Regions from separate parts of the Homo sapiens genome. Here all the other regions are linked to region 3. The links are contacts of gene promoters, found by promoter capture Hi-C in blood cells and fetal thymus (Javierre and others, 2016). All regions are on one chromosome and are shown on one strand. The core of a region is centred on a gene start or on the middle of the fragment in contact, and the rest is flanking DNA. Distances in the headings are between cores, read along the strand shown.

The links. The method cuts DNA at HindIII sites, captures the fragments that hold promoters and counts their contacts. A CHiCAGO score of 5 or more calls a contact.
Region 1: a contact is called between a fragment that was not itself captured here and the fragment with the promoter of ARL6 in region 3, in 1 of 17 cell types (endothelial precursors). The highest score is 6.0, in endothelial precursors.
Region 2: a fragment that was not itself captured here is called in contact with the fragment with the promoter of ARL6 in region 3 in 1 of 17 cell types (total B cells); the score reaches 7.8 in total B cells.
Region 4: a contact is called between a fragment that was not itself captured here and the fragment with the promoter of ARL6 in region 3, in 2 of 17 cell types (total B cells and naive B cells). The highest score is 9.6, in total B cells.

Annotation. Positions count from the first base shown.
Region 1 is chr3:94,261,691-94,265,159 of GRCh38, reverse strand. No RefSeq gene overlaps it. Among named protein-coding and RNA genes, the nearest start is that of NSUN3, 200 kb to the right of the region's middle. The HindIII fragment of the contact is 783 bases long and covers 1,141-1,923 here.
Region 2 is chr3:94,049,400-94,052,603 of GRCh38, reverse strand. ARL13B (ARF like GTPase 13B) reads right to left here. Exons shown (of 10, transcript NM_001174150.2): 8 at 3,082-3,198; 9 at 1,712-1,780. Among named protein-coding and RNA genes, the nearest start is that of DHFR2, 12 kb to the left of the region's middle. The HindIII fragment of the contact is 629 bases long and covers 1,614-2,242 here.
Region 3 is chr3:97,762,981-97,766,222 of GRCh38, reverse strand. It overlaps ARL6 (ARF like GTPase 6), which reads right to left and starts at 1,465. Exons shown (of 8, transcript NM_001278293.3): 1 at 1,246-1,465. RefSeq lists enhancers at 1,308-1,417, 1,133-1,632, 1,458-1,997, 1,633-2,134. The HindIII fragment of the contact is 6,880 bases long and covers 1-3,242 here.
Region 4 is chr3:94,069,639-94,072,758 of GRCh38, reverse strand. All of the region lies in intron 2 of NSUN3 (NOP2/Sun RNA methyltransferase 3), which reads right to left. Among named protein-coding and RNA genes, the nearest start is that of NSUN3, 8.1 kb to the right of the region's middle. The HindIII fragment of the contact is 1,800 bases long and covers 892-2,691 here.

The sequences.
Region 1 (3,469 bases), core at 283-2,782, 3.5 Mb after region 3:
GCAATGTGTTTTTTATGCAAAGGATTTGAACCATAGCAATTTAGCTAACTTAGAACTACATTTCCCATAATTAACTTCCCAGTGGTCCAGGAGAGCCCTTTTGCATAAGTTTTGCAAGTTAGACTGAAGCAGTGGCCATATTGTTTTCATCCTCAGGCTGGTACAGGGGCACCAGGCACTCTACCAACCCATGCTCATTGACACCTCAGCTGACACTGGATTAACATGGGGCAACACCTAGCCCTGCAGCTGCTCCAACCTACCCTCAGTTGTCCTTCAGGTTCTCTGTCTTCTTGGCCCATGTGTGTGTTAAGCTCTATGACAAAGGGCATCAATTTCTCCTGCAGGCCACCAGCACCATTGAAGTTGGAGGCAGAGTGAGACCAGGGTTTCAATCCATCCTCTTGGACTGCAGCTTGAGCCAATGGGTTACAGTTTTCCTTTCTCTCCCCACTCCAAATCTGTCTTCTTTTCTTGAAAGTCCTGCAGACTTTAAGCTCCAGAAAAGATGCAAAGGCAACAGCCTTGCAGAGGCTGATTAACCATCTCCCATGATTGCATAAGGTACAATCTGTATAAAAAAATCTTAGTGGTTCTGCTTCTCTGATCCTACCCTGACTGTTAAAAGAAAAAAAAAAAAAAGCTAGTTAAAAGATAGCTAGTATGGGTCTCAAATTCTTCAAGCCCATGTGACAAGCATACTTCTCTGTAGACAGAACTAACTGAGAATGAAATAATAACCAGAAGTTTGCTTAAAAAACTTAGAAACAGAACCGAACATTAATTAAGTGAATGAAACATGTAATGTAAAATAGATGTCTTCATATAGCATCTTCTTGCCAGTTTACTGTAATCTAAGACTCTCTTCTCTGAACTATGTTAAGATAGACTTTTCCAAAGTGTGCCTCTATACCCTTTTCAATATGGCCAAGAGTGAATGACCAATGTCTGATTGATACTTTTTTCCTTTGATGCATTAATCATTCAATCATAGTTCAATCTACATTGTTTTTTGTTTTGTTTTGTTTTTGTTTTGGTCAGCATGAGATGACTTTGTGTATCTCTTTTCTCATGTCTTATAACCCAAATACTGACCAAAAAATACAGGAGATCACATTTCTTCCCCACAGTTGAGAAGCTTTACTTCATTTCTTAGGTTCTGCAAGTTAGAGATAAACTTAACTTCTCAAGCAATCTTTTTTATGAGGCAAATACCCTGTGGAGGCTAGCAGACTTTTTCATCTTAGTATGAATTAACTCCATCTGCTTGCTTTCTTCTTGCTGTGGTCAGCTGTGCTAAAAGAATCGGTTTTTTTAGCAGAGTGTTAGGAAGGCAGAAAAATTGTTTTAGAATGCAGGGATCTTTGAGGGAAGAGGAACCCAGTTGAATCATCACAGGAGAAAGTGGGCAGACTCATGCAGTCTAATGGTTCAGGGCTTCTGAGAAGCAGGAGAGGGAACATGCTCAGGATATGTTTTCTGACTCTAAATTCTGAAGTCATAAGTACTTCAGTAGATGATCTAGATTCTTCCATAGATTCTTTCAAGTCTCAGACCTTGATTGAGAAAATTAGATGGTGAGTTGTAGTTCAAAGGCTAAGTACATGAACAGCTCTCTCCCCAGTCAGACATCAATACCATCTTCATCTATGGTTCTCATTAGATGTCCTTTGAAAGGCTTTGACACATATGTGTGGCATCCGATATCTTGATAATTGCAAAATAATCAAGCTGCGAGCAGTAATTATTGACAATATAGAAGAATCATTGTATTTTTGCTGTTGTTGTTGTTAACTTGAATACAACCTCCAAATTAAGTGCCAAATGCAAGCCAAATGTGAAGTTCTTCTCTCTATCAGAACTCCAAATATTGGTGTTTATTTGATTCTTAAAAATAGTATTTTCAGCCTTAAAAAGAAAGCTTGGAATTATTGGAATAAAAATGAAGGAGTGTATATAACCGTATTTTATAAAATTTCACTTTCAAGCAAACTTTATGAGGCATTTTATTTTGTATAGAAACTTTGAAATAGCCTAAAGGCTTTCTTTGACCAGCTGCATATTCTATCTCTTAAATGTCTTCGGAGTGAAAAGATTCCCTCAGCAGAGGCACCTGCAGGATGTGCAACGATTCATTTTTACTCTGAATATCAGTTCTGTGGAAGCATCAGCTCTACTGGCTCATCATTTACATTCACAATGGACATCTGGAGCCAGAAAAATGAAACATTAGACTTGTTTGTGTTGTCAAATTAAAAGGGAAAAAGAGAATGGTTTAAAGTTCTGAGAGTCTCTGTAACATTTAATTATGCTTTCGACTGCAGTCCAATCAAAAATATGCTTTTGCAGGAAAATGGGCACCAAGAAAAAACATGCTTTGCTATTCAGATTGTTGCTAGGTCAACCTCTCAAATCACAAGCTTGGAGAAAAGCAGCCACCACAATGAGTATAGAGTCTTTCCTCTGAAGAAGCCGAACAGCTCCACCAATATCCTCAATAGGACTCTTTCCTTACATTCCCAGGGGATGACATTATTCATTTTTTTCCTGACTGAAGCACTGTGAAGCCAACGGCATTTAAGAAGTTAACTAGATCTGGAAGATTGTGTTGCCAATATATGTACCATCCAGCTCCCATAAGATAAATTCAAATCCAAAATATATGACTGGATACCTAGTTGATAGAGGAATGGTATACAGTGCAAAGAATAATATTTTGATGATATTCTTATGGAAATTTTTGTTTTAGAAATTTTTTACATAAGAATTTTAGTAATTTTCAAAATCACTGCTCAGAAAGAAAAGGGCTTTGCTGTTTTTAAAAAAAAAAAAAAGTGTGGTCAGGCCAAGTGTGGTGGCTCACACATATAATCACAGCACTTTGGGAGGCCAAGGTGGGAGGATCACATATGGCCAGGATTTTGAGCTCAGCCTGGGCAACATCGTGAGTCCCTGTCATTATCGTAAAAGAAAAAAAAAATGGGGGCATTATTAACAACTGCTGCTTTCTAATGACTCTTATACTGATTATTCCTGGTGAAATTGTTTCAGATATTGGGCTATTTCTAGCCTAATTCAATCTGATTCAAATTAATTTAATCATTTGCTGAAGGTCTGACAAGAAAAACTTCAATAGGCAGATGATGGCATTGGCGAAAAAAAAACTGTTTTTCTTTTCTATCTTATCCAGCCATTACATCAACATTTATTGAGCCTTTACTGTGTTTACTGCACCACATTAAATAACAGGGAAAATTCAAAATGGAGTTTACAACCTCACTAGAAAGAAGGAACACAATAAATGGAAACAAGAAGACAATGATTTCTAAAACTCATATTTCACAGGGAAGTTTTGTGCAAATTAGTGATATCCCTTTGTTAAACTTTCCTTCTCTACACACACACTGATCCAATGGGACAATTTAAAACATTGTACCTCTGAAAGAAAATCGTACTTGAAGAATAAAAC
Region 2 (3,204 bases), core at 679-3,178, 3.7 Mb after region 3:
TTTTCTCTTTCTTACCCACTCAATGCACATAAACCTAATCTCCTGTCACTGGCAACTTCATGTTATTCTCCAACTAAACAATATTCTTTCCTAACTCTCTATCTTGAAATAGTCTGTTTCTTCTGCTTACTGACTCTTCTCATTCTTTGAAGACCTCGTTCTAATGCCACTTTCCCTAACTGCCCATGTACACAGTACTCCTACTGTGCACAGTACTCCAACTGTACACCATAGAACTCATTGTCATATATTCTACAGTAAGCTGAAGAATTGTCCTCTCTGTATAGTAGAATCCTCACAAAGGCAGAATGTACATCTTATTCATCTTGTTATTACCAATGTTTTAACAAACAAAATACTTGTATGTTAAATGAGTTCAACAGAAAAAATATGTCATATGAAAAATTGGTATTTTTTCTTCATATGTATGTGTGTACATATAAATATACACAGTAACATTAGTTTTCTAACAACATAGTGAATATTTATATTGACAATGTATTCTAACGTACACAAGTTCACTAAGAGTTGTGTAATAAAGAAATAAATCTACTGTAGTCAATATAAACATCACGATGTCAAGTCAGTAAACTAAACAGAGAGATGAGATTTCACTGAAAATACCACTTCAGTAATTCTGATGGAGTCTAAGGACAAACTTTTCTGTCTTTAAAAAAAAAAAAATTCATGAATTTTCACTAACGATTATCAAGAAATATTTCAATACTGACCTAAATAGAATTCTGGGGGAAAAAAGCAAATAGCACATTTATATTTAAGTACCTTTTAAACAAAAATATTTAAACTGGTTTGATATAATTTCAAATTATATGGTAATGCTTTTCTAAAGAGTAAACTTCTGAGTTTTTTCCTAGTAAGTGAAACCAAGTTCTAGACTAGGTAAACACAGAGCTGTCCAAAAAGGAATTGGATGTTCTTAACAAACAAGTTTATTGAACTACATTTATCTATAATTCTTTTGCATTCTAGAAATATTTTACTGAAGGGACCTAGACTGATGGTCTGTAATCAGAACTTCTCCTTGTTTTATAAGGCAGTTCTCTACTTCTCCTAAATATCCTTCCTCTAGTTTTTGCATCCTAGAATTCTAATGCCATAAACTATCTAGACTATAGCGTATGTTATATTCAAAGAAAACTGTTCTCTTAATTCAATAAAAATGTTAGTAACTTTCTACTTAGTCGAACTTTATTAGGTTTACTGATTTGATCTCTGATTTTATAAACTGTGTTGATCTTTACTTCACTTTAATGTTCAGCAGCTGGTTGTCTTATTAGGAGTAGAGAGAAAAAATTATGTGCCATTATCATTGAGTATATTGAGCATATACAGGAAACTACAGCTTTTAACACTTAAGTTATAAATTCTAATGTCTCATAGTTAAATTATTTTAAAACATTTCCTTTTTATTATAACTCCTTGTATAAATATATCATGGATAATAAACACAAGCTATGATTCTTTTTACCTCTGTATTCTAAGGTAAACACCAAATTAAATGATATAGATGTAAAGCATACTTAAGAATAAAAAATTAAATAAAATGAAAAAAGACGTATAATGAAAAAGGATAGCTGTGGATTTGACAAGCTTCTAAAACTAAAACATAAGTTTGTTGAAATTATAAGGCTAAAGAAAAGTGAATGTGACATGTACAGATGATATCTGAAAACCAATCCTTTTGCATTACCATTATGATGTGTTTCACCAAGAGGCTCAAGTTTTGGAAGTCTAGTGACTTTAGGGGTTCCCCAGCCAACTAAAGAAAAAGAAAAACATTTAAAAAACACTGTTAAACAAGGTTTCTTTAGGTCTGTTGAGAGGATCCCTCCCTGGAAAGGAAGCATATGTAACATTCAATGTCAATTCAAATATATTGAATGACAGTATGGAAAGCCAGAAACCCATTTTAAATGGCTTCTATATTTTAAAATGTAATTATAGGCTGCTAACATCTGCTTTAACTTTTCAGTAGCTTTTAATAAAAACTATAAGCACCTTCACCACTATCAAAAACAAACTCATGCTATCATTCTAACTCTAGGCAGAAACTAAATATTTTCTTAATAAATGGAATACTGGAAATGAGTCTATAAGAGATTCTTAAAATGTTACCAAATAATTTCTAAAGCCTTGTAGCAGGGCTATAAGGGCACTATACACATATTTATCTAGTCATTACATATTTACTGACCACCTATAGTAGGTGAGGTGCTAAGCTTAGTGCTGAAAAGTTACTCAAAATTATTGTGCAAGTTAAGTCCCAGTGTTTTATATGCATTACTCCATTTAATCCTCGTAACAACTTAGGACATGGGTATGTATATTGAAAATGTATTAGAAAAAATTAATACATCTTGGTTTCAAACATTAACTTTCAGGATGAAAGGTCCAATTTTTTTTTTTTTTTTTTTTTCCCGAGATGGAGTCTCACCCTGTCACCCAGGCTGGAGTGCAATGGAGTGATCTTGGCTCACTGCAACTTCTCCATCCCAGGTTCAAGCGATTCTCCTGCCCCAGCCTCCTGAGTAGCTGGGATTACAGGCATGTGCTACTACGCCCAGCTAATTTTTTTTTTTTTTTTTTGTATCTTTAGTAGAGACGGGGTTTCACCAAGTTGGCCAGGTTGATCTCGAACTCTTCACCTGGTTATCTGCCCGCCTCGGCCTCACAAAGTGCTGGGATTACAGGTGTCAGCCACCATGCCGAGCCGGTTCAATGTTTTAAAAACTCATGTTAGCCATCCATCGTGAAACTTAAATTAACATGTGGGTACTGATATTTCAAATAGAACTTGAACATATTCTAGGAAATACTGGGTAAAATTTTCTTAATAGTTTTTACTTATTTTTTTCTTTATAAAACATTTTTTTATTCAAAAAAGCAATGGACATTTGTGTTAGCAAATTTTGTCCAAATCAGAGTAAAAGATTCTTCTTCACAAGTATACAAGATAATGAATATACAGAATAAAAATGACAAGATTCCTTTTTTCTTTTTTTTTTTCTCTGTTGTTTAAAGCAATATTTCTAAATTCAGTATCAGTATCAATTTACTCACCAGGAGGAGGGGGTGGGGGTGGCGTTGGACTCTCAGGAGCACAGTCATCTATATTAAGTGGTTCTACCCGGTGGTTCCTTTTCATTCTTAGTTTCTTAGTTTTCTTTTTACCATTAGCTACAA
Region 3 (3,242 bases), core at 216-2,715:
TTGTTCTCCATTTCATAATTTAGAACTTATGTTTTAAAAACGACAACTTCTCACATTTTCCCCCCTTTAAGCATCTACTATAAAGCACTGAGTGTTTAAAGCCTGATGCTTGAATATTCGTTTTTCACAGTACCTTGTATTGTGACTTTCCATCACTTTTCCATGGATTATCACTTGATACTTGTTAATGAAATATTTTGGGACACACAATTTAGAAGAGCAGGCAGTTTTTCTAAAAGAGGTAATCACATTTATTGAAATTGCTTTATAAACAACTATCATAGAGCCTTTAAACTTCTACGTTTCAAGTAGTTATAATTTTCCTTCCATAAGTTGACTTTCTGCATGCATAAATAAAAGATAATTGAAGCCAGTCAATATTTGTTAATCGTGTCTTAAGTGTGCAGCGAGAGACACAACTGTTTTCTGCAGCTTCCTACTCTGATAGCCATGATTCTCAACCCTGGCTGCACTCTGAAATCAATTGCTGAATCCGAATTTTTGAAAATAAGATCAGGGCATCTGTAGTTTTAAAAGCTACCCAGTGTTTCTGATGTGAAGTTACTATTGAGAACTACTGGCTTTCAGAATAAAGCCAGTAGTTTCAAACTTCCAAGCACAGCTTTTAAGGTTGTCCACAATCTGGCTCCAATCTTCCTTTCTTGTTTCTTATCTTACTGTAACCCTCTCTTTGCACACCAGCCAAATTCTCTTGGTTATTGTCTGACAGACTGTTTCCTAAAGGATTACATATTGCCAGAGAAGTCCAGAAGAATTAGGATGTTATCCACAGTTAACAGCTTAGAGGGTAAGCTGCAGAGACAGAGTGGTAGCCCAGAGAAAACACCACGAATGATACTTAGTAAACTCTGTAAAGTGTTTGTTGATTGAAATGTTGCCTACTTTTATTACCCCAAATAAACATTCTTATTCGGCTTTCAGTTTTTTATGATATAATTTAAATTACACTTACACACACACACACACACACACACACACACACACACACACCCCCAATACACGGGTCTAAGTTGAGCATTGTTAAAACCCATCAACCAAACATACGTCCAAACCAGTTTAGTAAGTTTTCTAGGGCCTCTATAACTCACCTTCTTTTCTACTTCTCATACATTAGCAACAACTACACGCGTGGAGTGAAAAACATGGGAAAGACCAAAGAGGAATTCTAAAACTGACGGGGACAGAGGGTGGCGCTGGCTTTAAAAACCGGCGTTGAGGAGATACCTGGTTTTTGAGGTTAGTCCGGAGGGCGCAGGAGCTGGCAACAGGAATGGACGCACTCGTATCGGTCTCCGGGATGGAAATCTGGTGCGAGGGTCCCTCAGCCTTCTTCTCGATGCCTACATGGGAAGGATGCCTGGTAATGAGCAAAGCCGTCTCTAGAAGTTGGGAAAACCGGCAGCCTCTGCAGCAGTCTGTGCATCAGTCGCTGAGCAGGCGCCTTGGCAGGCACCGTTCCCTTGGCAACAGGAGCTTCTTCCGGTCCTGAAGCCACGCCTCCCCGGGGGTCCTGGCGATTCAGCCGTTGTGCTATAGCTTCTGGGATTGAAGAGCTCCGGGAAAAGGTCAGAGGCGCGCCGAGGAACTATACATTGAAGAAAAATGTGTGCACAGGTGGCAGGGTGAGCTGCCTATTTCCTGCGAGGAGCCGGGCAGTTCCCGGCGTAGCATCATGGGAGTTGTAGGCTCGCGCACAGCTTTCTGGGAAGCGTTTGGCGTTCGCGTGTGCTGCGTGTTTGTCGCTCGGCCCTGGTCTTCCTGGGGATCCAAGAGGCTGGCGCTGGGTGTGGCGCGGAGAGTGTCGTTACCGGGCACCAGCGTAGCGTTGTGGCAACGACTGCAAGACGATACTGTCCCCCCTGGGGCAAGATGTGCGCCGGAGTTCCCCAGTTGCCCATCGCACCGACTCTTCTCTGGGTTCTGATAGGCCTCCCACCCTGAGTCCCTGTAGAGGTAAAACTGTTAATACAGGAAGGTAGAGGGGAGAACTGGTGTAAAAAGTCAAAAGGTGTTATTCGGCTAATAAAGTATGCCTGTACCCCTGCTTCTTAGTTGTGTGGTCTCCCGAAGAGATTTCTACCAGGCATAATCTCCTGTGAGTAGATTACAGTCTCCAGAATCAAATCGGCAGGTGGTCAGGAAAGGTATTAATAGTCAATACTTAAAGTTGACCACCTTCTTAAATTGCACTTGGATTTTATAGTCATAGTCACAAATGGTCTTCAAATAGAAAATATTTAGGCATACCCTTCCCCACATCTTTTATTACTGCGTTTTCCAACGGACACATTACAGATGCAGTCATTTTAAAGATCTAGCCTTTCAATCTGCCCAACTCCACTAACCTCACCCCCAGCGAATGGCCTCATTCTTCAAATAGGGGTTTGTATCTCTTCATTTTTTTTGTTTGCATGGGTGTAGGATTTCCGACCCCCTGCCCCCCACCGCGCGACCCTTTTCAACTAGCTAGTGTATGTTTACTGCACTGCCTGTTCTTTGGCCTGTCAATTCATTTGGCCTATTAAATGGACTAGGAGGGTGCAAAAAGAGACTAGAAGGAATTATTTCAAAGTAATATGGTAGGGGGGACGGTTGTAAGCGTGTGATTATGGGGTGATTTATCTTTTGTCACTTCTCCAAATTTCCAAATGTAATTGTCATTTTTACAGCGAAAAAACAAAAGCGGCTCTGGATTAGTGATTCTTGTTGAAAGACAAAAACAAAACAAAGACCCTATGGATGCATATCAACATATAAATGTCCTTGTAAAAATGGAGTATGGAAATACATTCTTTCTTACTGTGTGGTCTTAGCCCAATTTACCCTTCTCCGTGCTTCTATCCTCACCTTCAAAAATATAGTATTTATCTTATCTGGTAGTTCTGAGTATTAAAGATAACAGAAATACAGATGTTTGGCACATATTTATTGTTCAATAAATAATGTCCTGTCTTCTTTTGTCTTGAGCTTTTTATTGTGTAAACAAAATTGACCCAAACCGTAACTATGGTGGTTCTTTAACTTCTGAACTTCTAATCGTGAATGCATTGACAGGGAGGTGTTGAACACTTTTCTGTGTGCCTGGGTGTTGTGACTTACTTGTAAGAGATGGAAGCTAATGTGCTTGCGGCCAAAATATAACATTTTTTTTTCTTAGCGATCGGCAGAAATGTTATATTTCAGAAAACTTTCATGGACAGACTCAATTTTTCCTGCTAAAA
Region 4 (3,120 bases), core at 542-3,041, 3.7 Mb after region 3:
TCTATCTCATTCTTTAGTGACTAGACAAAATAAGGCCTAAATAGAACAAACGAAATTTTTGATCTTTCATGATCTACACCCAACCCTACTGAACTATACAGATTTCTTCTAACAAGTTTCTTTAAAATTTACTGATCTCCACATGCCCGGCCCCCAACCTCCCTGAATAACCTTTCCTCTCTCACCTATCTGTTCTCAACTTAGGGAGTTTTCTCTCTCCAACGAAGTCTTTCCACTTACCACCCGGTTCACATCCTCCACCATACTCTGATATCATTATTAATAAATGTTACTGACTGGATGTGTACAATGTTCATTTTGCATGTTTATATCATAGAACCATCACAACAACCTTGAGAGAGGCAGCTCTTACTCCTATTTTAGAGGTTAACTGAGGCTTTTAGAGATTTTGGCAACTTACCTGAGGTCACATTGCTAGTACGCAGAAGTATCTGATTCAAAATCAGACTGACTTTAAAGTCTAACAGAAGTGATTCCCAACGTGTGAGACCCTGGTACTACAGCACAGAGCTACAAAAGGGGGCAAGAAAGAGAATTTTACCCCAACCCTCACTTAGTGCAAGTGGCCATGACCTCCCTGAAACCCTCTTCTGTCTAACAATGAAATCAGCTTGCCACATCCTGCCTATAGAAGCAGCTGCAACAGACCAACTCTTGAAGGGACTGCTAAGGCTGCTCAGGCTGGTGCTTCCTAGCCCTGAGAAAGCAAAGCTGTGTATTAATATGATTCTTACAGTTCCCCTTGCACACACCTGCCACTGACCTCCATTCTCCTCCCCACAACACACACACATACAACCCCTCCTGTGCCTGCACTGGGTGGGTTGCTAACCTGGGGCTGGAGGGAAAGTGGCTTCCGAATCCAAAGCTTTTATGGATGGGCAAGTAGCTTAGCAGGCAGTAGAGGGAATGTATGTTAGATGACTCTAGAAAACAGCGGCCAGGTGCCACACTCCAGGCCTTTTCCCAAGATTCACAGTTAGTCTGAAGCGGCTCCATTTACTGGTCTTCCAGGTGAGAAGAAGTGCAAGTACCTCAGTAGCCAGCAGAACTGGAGACATACAAGGTCAGTGACCTGCAAATTTGCTAGTGCACCACTGATATCATTTTGAAAAAAAACACATTTTAAGTTGACATTAAAATCTCACCATATGTTTAAAGGATGCAATTTCCAGCATACTGTAAAAATTGACATTTTAAAATACAAATTATACTGCCTTTAGTATGTGCCCAGTGGAAACTAAATATCATAATGATTTTGATACCCATCATCATCCATTTAAAAATTCATAGACTGACTCATCTTTAACAGGTGGAAATTTTATGCTGCTCGTTTTCCTCTTTTATTTACATTCTACTTCATATAACTTCATCTTAATATATTTTCATGCTTGAAATCTTTTTATCACCCTATCATGCTTCTCTAGCCCCCACATATACACATGTGTATGTACTAAATTTGTTTTTCCTGTGGTCTTAAATCTCTAAGTGTTAAAATGGTAACTTCTGGATTCAGGGATCAATAATATTATTAGTACAAAACCGATCAAAACAACTTATAAAAGTAAAAATTGGTAAGAAATGGATACTTAATGAAATGAGCTTTTGTTTCCATATATCCATAAATGAATATTACTTCTTACTATAATAAAATCAGTCAGGATTCAACATCATTTTTATGCCTATTTTGTGTTTTTTATAAAAGCTGAGAAAAACCTTCAGTTAAATAAGTGGATGAGAATTAAATATATTTTGTTATAGCAATGTTTCTTACTTTGAATTCTTTTGGAGTTATATCCCCAAATCACTTAGCAACCTATCATCAAAAATGTCTTAAATGAATTGATAGCTGACATCTCAATCAAGGCTCCTTTACTTTTGTTGAAAGCAAAACTTGGAAACCACCTGACTTGTCAGAGAATCTGTTAGTCATTTGCTTTCTCACACTGACACTCCAATAGTTTCTGGCATATGGAGGTTTTGAATACCTGGAGGAACATAGCATAGAAGCCAGAATGGTGCAAGTGTGCCTTTCTTTTTGTGAAAAGGGTGAAGGGAAATTGGAGAAAGGCAGGTTGGGAAAGGAGAATATGTGCCCCCTTATGTACAGAGGGGCAGAGTAATTTTCTGAAAGAGAATACATGAAAGTTGAGGATGTGAAAACTGACTGCGGTCACTTGCCTGAGCCTACATACCCCCTTGAAAAGTCTTTCTATTTCTCACTCATTGTTGCTCCTCCCTCCAACATGCTAAGTCTGTTTTGTCTTCTTTTTTTTAGAGACAAGGTCTCACTCTGTCACCCAGGCTGGCGTACAGCTGTGCGATCATGGCTCAGTGAAGCCTCGACCTCCTGGACTCAAGCGATCCTCCTACCTCAGTCTCCCAAGTAGTTGCGCCTACAGGCACGCACCACCACACCCAGCTAATTGCTTATTTTTTCTAGAGATGAGGTCTTGCTATATTGCCCATGCTGGTCTTGAACTCTTGTCCTCAAGCAATCTTCCCGCCCTCAAGCAAATCTCCTGCCTTGGCCTCCCAAAGTGCTGGAATTACAGGTGTGAGCCATCGTATATTATCTTCTTGTCAACATTCATTCATTCTCTAAAAATACACCGTCTGTCAACTATAGGCTAGGCACATCTATTTACTGATAATGATATAAAATAAGCTTAAATTCCTAAGAAACAAAAGAAAAATAAATTCCTAAGAAACAAAAGAAAAATTCCTAAGAAACAAAAGAAAAATATTAAAACTGACCAAAAAAAAATTAAGTAAAACTAGACAGATGGTACACAAGAATAACTGAATTTTGAGAAACAGTTAATGAAGCTAAACTAATATATCACACTGTGTGTCACCCTGCCTGCTTACCCATTTCCCTAACTCATTTATATGGGAGCCTTGACTTATTTTTCTCCTTGGCTAAGTGCCTGGGGCCTAAATCCTGGAGTAAATGAATAAAATTGGAGTTCTGATTCAAGGCTCTCTGAACTACTTACTATTTTAACAAAATTAAAGCATTAAAAAATTAAAAGCTAGTTAAGTTAAAATTTTGCAAAACTGTATAATGTATCATTTCGATAATGTTTATTATTTGAT